2 separate regions of the Homo sapiens genome follow, and region 1 is linked to region 2. Evidence: promoter capture Hi-C in human tissues and cell types (Jung and others, 2019). All regions are on one chromosome and are shown on one strand. Each heading gives the region's core, a stretch centred on a gene start or on the middle of the fragment in contact. The rest is flanking DNA. Distances are from core to core; before and after follow the strand shown. Region 1 holds the start of UBAC1 (UBA domain containing 1). Region 2 holds the start of WDR5 (WD repeat domain 5).

The links. Contacts are between HindIII fragments. The study calls those that stand out against the background at their distance.
Region 1: the fragment with the promoter of UBAC1 here is called in contact with the fragment with the promoter of WDR5 in region 2 in 1 of the 25 tissues and cell types used here (spleen).

The regions. Positions count from the first base shown.
Region 1 is chr9:135,959,792-135,963,007 of GRCh38, reverse strand. It overlaps UBAC1 (UBA domain containing 1), which reads left to right and starts at 1,635. Exons shown (of 10, transcript NM_016172.3): 1 at 1,635-1,983. The coding sequence starts at 1,846. RefSeq lists silencers at 1,486-1,895, 1,906-2,025 and an enhancer at 1,515-2,015. The HindIII fragment of the contact is 18,279 bases long and covers 1-3,216 here.
Region 2 is chr9:134,134,384-134,137,437 of GRCh38, reverse strand. It overlaps WDR5 (WD repeat domain 5), which reads right to left and starts at 1,356. Exons shown (of 14, transcript NM_017588.3): 1 at 1,238-1,356. It overlaps WDR5-DT (WDR5 divergent transcript), which reads left to right and starts at 1,456. Exons shown (of 2, transcript NR_186420.1): 1 at 1,456-2,252. RefSeq lists enhancers at 375-1,299, 2,206-2,315 and silencers at 1,226-1,405, 1,846-2,015. The HindIII fragment of the contact is 22,361 bases long and covers 1,350-3,054 here.

The sequences.
Region 1 (3,216 bases), core at 386-2,885, 1.8 Mb before region 2:
CACAGTCACCACCATTCATTCTGCCACCTGGTCACACCGTTAGTGGCTCTCACAGCAACGTCTTAATGCTCTGACCCGGCTCCTCCAAGCCCTCTAGCTTCCCCCACTCTCCACTCACCACCTTGGTGTTCCTCCCCTTTCTCCTCCACCAGCTTCCACGATACTACCACCACCTCCACTGCGGTCTCTAACAGTCGGTACTTCTGCTTCCTGCGTTAAAAATGCCCCATTCCAGGACTGTATCCTGGTGTCTGGTCTTAATCACTACCATATTTTCATTGAGTAGCAGAGGCTCCCACCTGTGAGAGGCAATTAGTAAGTGCTGAACTGGACACATGGAATCTGGACGAGGTTGGAATTATCACAGGAGAAAAATGAGGATGTGTGTGCAAAATGGTGTGGACAGAATAAAAGCCTGCAGGCAGGAGGCAGAGACAGCCTCCCCGGTTAGATTGCTAACCTCTGAGAACGGGAACTGTGCCTTATTCATCTCTGCGCAGTAAAGTTTTTTTAAATGAATGGGATGAATGAGTACAGATCAGTCAATGTGTCAGGTCTAACCTGAACTACAAAATTCATATTTAGGAGCATGGTAAGTAAGACGTTATCCAGGACTGTTGAGCTAGGTACAGAGACCACTGCCAAGGGGGCTTGCAGTGGGGAGAGAGGTCAGGCTCAACTCCCAATACAGCAAGGGCAAGTGGGTGGGGTCAGTGAATGGAAAATTAATAGGAGAAAACATCAGGGATGTGGGCGGTTCTGGCTAAACCGACCTGACAGGGTTCTTGCTGAAGAGAGGCTGGAGATATCAGACAGCACCTGGGGGACGAGGAACCTGACCAGACGTCCAGGGTGATCTGATATTGAGGCTGGGAGTTCTTGCTAAACTCACTTATCAAGGCTCTTCGCTAAAACTGGATTTTACAAGGAAGTGTACAGATGATGTAGAAGGTTCAGGAGCCTGCTTAAGTTTGGCCAAGCAAAGACTCTTTGTCACACCCCACAGAAAATGAGTCTGCCTGGCATCACCTGCACCAAGGGCGGCTTCCCTCCCCTCTGGGTGCCCCGCAAACCTAGGCTTCGCAGGAACAGTGACTCTCTGATCTGCGTGTGAATTAGAAAGACCTAGGCTTGTTAAAGCCAAGTTCTTTGGAGAGCCTCCGTTCTACAGCAGTGCAGTGCAAAAGAAATATCACAGCAGCCATGTAGGCAATTTAAAATTCTATCTTAAAAAGGTTAAAAGAAACAGGTGAAATTAATTTTAATGACATATTTTTCTTAACTCAATAGATACAAAATATTATTTCAACATGTAATCAATATGAAAACATTATCGAGATGCCTTACATTCCTTTTTCCCGTTACTTCTTTGGGATCCAGCGTGTATTTTACCTTTAGAACCCATGAGGTCCCACGTGGTGAGTGCCCCGGGTGGGAACCGCCTGCAGCTCGGGGAGGAACGAAGCTACCAGAGAACTACAGCTCCCGGCATGCTCCGGGCGCGCCCCGTGACGCACTTCCTTTGCGGTGGCCACAGCGCGCCCCCGGCGGCGGGAGCGAGGCGCCTGTCCGAGAACCACATCTCCCGGCATGCGCCAGACGCGCCCGTGACGCACTTCCGGTGCGGCCGCGACGGCGCGCCCCCGGCGGCTGCTGCGGCGGCGGGAGCGAGGCGACCGCTGAGGCCGCGGAGAGTGACGGCGGCCCGGCCGACGGGAGCCGGGGCGGGGCGGCGGCCCAGCGAAGGAGCGCGCGGGCGGTCTGGCCCCGCCCCCTCCCCGCCCGCCTTCCCGGTGACCTTCAGGGGCCCGGGTGGCGGGCGCAGGCCCCTGCGGCGGCGGCGGGATGTTCGTGCAGGAGGAGAAGATCTTCGCGGGCAAGGTGCTGCGGCTGCACATCTGCGCGTCCGACGGCGCCGAGTGGCTGGAGGAGGCCACCGAGGACACCTCGGTGGAGAAGCTCAAGGAGCGCTGCCTCAAGCACGTAAGGCCGGGCCCCCTCCCCTGCCCCCAACACCCGCTCCGGACCCCTCCGACTGCGGACCCCGCCTCAGTCCCCGAACCGCCCCGACCTGGGGTCCGCCGCCCAGTCCGCAGCTCCCAGGCCCTCTCCTCCGGGGGTGGAGGCAGCGCCTCCTGCCCGTTTGCCCGACTCTCCCCCTTTCGGATCCCACACCTCTGGACGCTCGTCCCGGGCCTGGCCTTTCGGCCGGCGGACTCCGGTCACTAAGCGCTCGCCCCGTGCCAGCCGCCCGGCCGAGCCCTGTACACGCCAGCCTCTCAGTTAACTCTGCAGCCACGCAGGGAGGTAGGGGCAGATCGGGAAACTGAGGCCTGGAGAGTGAAGTCGCCGACGGAGCAGGGCCTCGGGACTTTCCGGCAGTTGTACCTTTTTGCTGTTGGGGTGAGGTTTTTTTTCAGCAGCATCTTTGAGAGCTGAGAATTAACGTAGGCTCCTTCATGAAGAGGCCCCTTCTCCTTCCTCTTCCCCTTTCCCGCAGAGCCGGCTGCTTGGAGCTCTTTTCCTGGCTGGCCCCAGGCCACTGTGCCTTTTAGCTGGAGTCCCTGAAATAGTGCCGCTGCGGGACAAGGCCCTGCGCCCCTGCTTTTCTGCAGAGGTAAAATTGGTCAAGAGAGAAGTCCCAGGAGTAGGGTCTCCTCGCGGAGACACTTTTTAAAGTTTATTCACCTGAAATACTCCTGTGTATTTAGTTCCTTAGGTTGCTGATTTTTGGAACTAGTTCTCGAGTCTCTAAAGGACTCAGTAAGGTCAGCTAAGAAGCCTGTCTGTGTGTCAGACTGACCTCCTGTCTATACCTGACATGATCTGAGGGCTTGGCAGAATTTAGGTTGAAGGAGGCTGCAATTTTCTAGTGGCGACTCCATGTGATAAGTTACGACGTATCTGTGTTGACAGGTTGAGTGCGTTACACTTGAGCTGAGTGTGGTCTCTAAGGATAAACTTCAGTTCTTACCATAGTAGCTGCTCGCATACAGTACTTTCGAGTTGCTTTTGTGAGCATGGTTCTGTGGAGTTCTGGAACTGTCAGAGGCAAGCTTGGCAAGCCCCCTTCTGGAACGCACTGGCTGTGAATAACTGGGAGGTGCTGGCCTCAGGATTCACACCAAGGAGGGGGCTGAGCCTCCTGCGTTCAAGGGCCGGTATGTTTTGGCTGCTTTCTTGCTTTTCTTCTGCCCCAGTCTGCATGATTTTGCC
Region 2 (3,054 bases), core at 107-2,606:
GTGCTAGGATTACAGGCGTGAGCCACCGCGCCGGGCCAAGGCTTGGCATTTTCATGAACACTCAGGTGTCTCTGTGGAACAATCCTTTTGAGAGAACAGGAAGGTTGGAGACTTGATCTTGAGGAAAGCGGGGGCCAAGGTTACGGGAACGGTGATGAATTGGCGGCCCCTAGACCAGATGCTGCCTGGCTCCTCCTAGCAGCCACTGCTTTTCATCCAGGTAAGCCTGACCACCTGAAGCCGAGCAACCAAACCTCAGTGTGCCCTCCTGGACTGCATGCCACAGGCCGATTCCTGAGTCCCTCAGTCCCTGAGGTGGAGCCCAGGAATCTGCCTGTGACATGCAGTCAGAAAAGCATACTGTGTGCAAAGACAGGAATTAATCTGCATCTTAAACACCAGCCGGGTGGCCGGCCCAACAGAGGTGGGGACCTGGCTCTCCCTATCTGAGATCCTGGACAGGCTCCCCGCCTGGGTCCTTCGCTTTCCTGTCTTCCCCACCGGCTAGGACAGCACCTGCCCAGGTCACAGATTAAACTAGCATTTGAGGAGATGGGTAAACGGACCGGGGTGAGTGGAAACTTGCAAGCGAGACAGCAGGGAGTGTCGTTAGCGATGTAACAGGCCGACCTCTGTTTGGTCCGGGAACGTAACCGCTCAAAATGGCTCTCGCAGACCGGCCAGGACAGGTCTGCGGCCCCGCGCGAGGAGGCACGGTGGGCCTACCGTTCAGGACCGAGGACCCGCACCCCAGGACCCCACCTAGCGAGCTGCAGCCTGGCTGCCTCGGGTTGGGGTGAGCGGCGGGAGCGGGCTGGGGGCGTTTCTACGAGGAGGGGAAGCGCACCTCGTCCAGGGACTGAGTGGCTTGGTGGGTCTGGGGTCCTTCCCTGAAGGGGCAGTGGAGGGAGAGGGGCGATGTGAGGCCGGGCACGCTGCCTGCGGGAAAGAGGACCCAGTGCCGGCGCTCTGGCCTTGTCAGCGGTCCGCCGGGGAGGCGGAGGTGGGGGCGCGAGTGGGGGCGGACCGGGTGGAGGGAACTGCGCGCGCGGCCGTCCACCGAGGGGCCGGGGCGGGGGTCCCGGGCGGGGCCGCTGCAGCGGGAGCAGCGCCCGGGGCTGGGCCTGGCCCGAGGCCCGGCGGGGAACACGTGCGGCGGCCGGGTGCGGTTTGGAAGCTTCTGGCGCCGCCCCGCTGCCCGCCTTGTGTTCCCCGGGCCGGGCGGCTGCCCGCTTACCTGCCGGGCCGCGGCGGCGGGGCCGGGCGCTCGGGGCGTCGCGTCGGCCGCCGCCTGGGCGGGAGCGCGGACTCAGCTCGACAAGGCGGCAGCTCGGGCGGGCGCCAGGCGGCGGGGGCGCAGTGCGCGTGCGCGAGGGGAGGGGGCGGTGTCCGGGGGGCGGGGCGAGCTCACAAAGCCGGCCTCTCGGAGGAGCGCTACGGGCAGCGACAGCGGCCAGAATGCCTCGGGCCGGCCCAACGCTTTAAAGGGACAGCACGGGGCGCGCGCTTCCCGCTTAAAAGCTTTAATCCCCGAATTTGACTGGTGCAGGCCCTTCTAATGCACTTCCTAAAAACTGAAGTATAATAATACATACAGGAAAGTGCTAGTGTGCCCTCGCGTTTCCACAGACAGCACGCCCTGTACACAGACACCAGCGGCCCTCCGGGACCTGCGCAGGTGGCGTCGCCCGGCGTTGTCTCCGGAGTCGATTCGGGCCGGGGCACCTCCCCGGGCGACCAGGCCCCTTCTTGATCATCGCTGGTACGGATGAGAGCGGCAGTGGGCATTTGGAAAGCACCTGGGGCCGCGCCCGGGCGCAGTGCCCCCATGTGGCCTCCCACCCCGGGCGGGCAGGACGATTCCTGCCCATCTGGAAGACCAGGAACCTGCGCGTTCACAGGGTTCGGAAGCCCGGGCTGCGCCTTCCCGCGGGGCCGGCTGCCGGGCTGGGGGCTCTTCCCGCCTCTGCATGCACAGAGCCCGCGGTGCACGAACCTGCTCCCCGCCAGCCCCGCGGACTGGCAGGGCCGCTCTGGAGTCACCCGCGCCCGCTCCGCAGTGCGCAAACTCACTTCGCAGCGGGCTCTCCCGGGGCCAGCCCTTCCCTCCTGGGCGGGCATTTTCACCTCCAGGTACAAGGGGGTGGTCCCCAGAGGAGGACTCAGGGGCTTAAGGAGAAGCTGAGGCCCGGTCCTCTGGCCTCAACGACTGCACATTCTCGCCGCCTGCTTCACTTCTTAGAGCCTTGGAGGTAGGCATGGCCTCCCTATCCCCTCAGCTAGGCCTGTGGGTAGAATAACATACAGTCCCTTATTCTCCAATTAAAAATGGGAACACAGAATATGACACAGGAACCCATGCAAACAAAGGGATAGAGCATTTGAAATAAAAATGCCAAGGAGGGTGAGGTGAGCGGTTGTCAGAGAGGTGGAACCGGAAGACTGGCAGTTGGTCTGGAGTCCCCTTCCCAGGAAGGACACAGAGAAGGCAAGGTCCCTGTCTGGTCCTTCAGGGCTCCATATGGATTTGTGTGCCCAAGAGGCCGGATCCCTTGGGCCAGGTGCCCTGGAGCATGGAGTGGTGACAGTCACAGGTTAGCAAACCCAGTTCGGATGAAGAAGCGCATCTTTATCTCCGTCCACCTGGCCGCCTGGGCCGGAATCCCGAGCCCGTGACACGCTGCTCTCCTTCCACCCCACCTCAGCTCTCAGATCGTCCACTTCTCTCCCTCCCCACCCCAGCCCTACCTCCCACCTGGGTCTTTTCTAAACCTCCAAACAGAGAAACTCCTAAAAATCCAGCTCTGATCTGTCACTCCCCAGTTTAAAACTCAGAACCAGCTTCCCACTGCCCTCAATTCCCTAATTCCCACTGCTCAATTCGGCTAAAGTGCTTACCAGACCCCGCCTCCTCTTCCAACCTAGCACCGGCTCCCAAACTGCAGTCCTGGTTCCAGCCCCAAAACAAAAATATTTCCAGCCCTTCAGCCCTCCAGGCAAAGCAAGATAAGGGGCGAGACCCCAGAACCCTCAGAACTCAAACCAAGTTCCCAG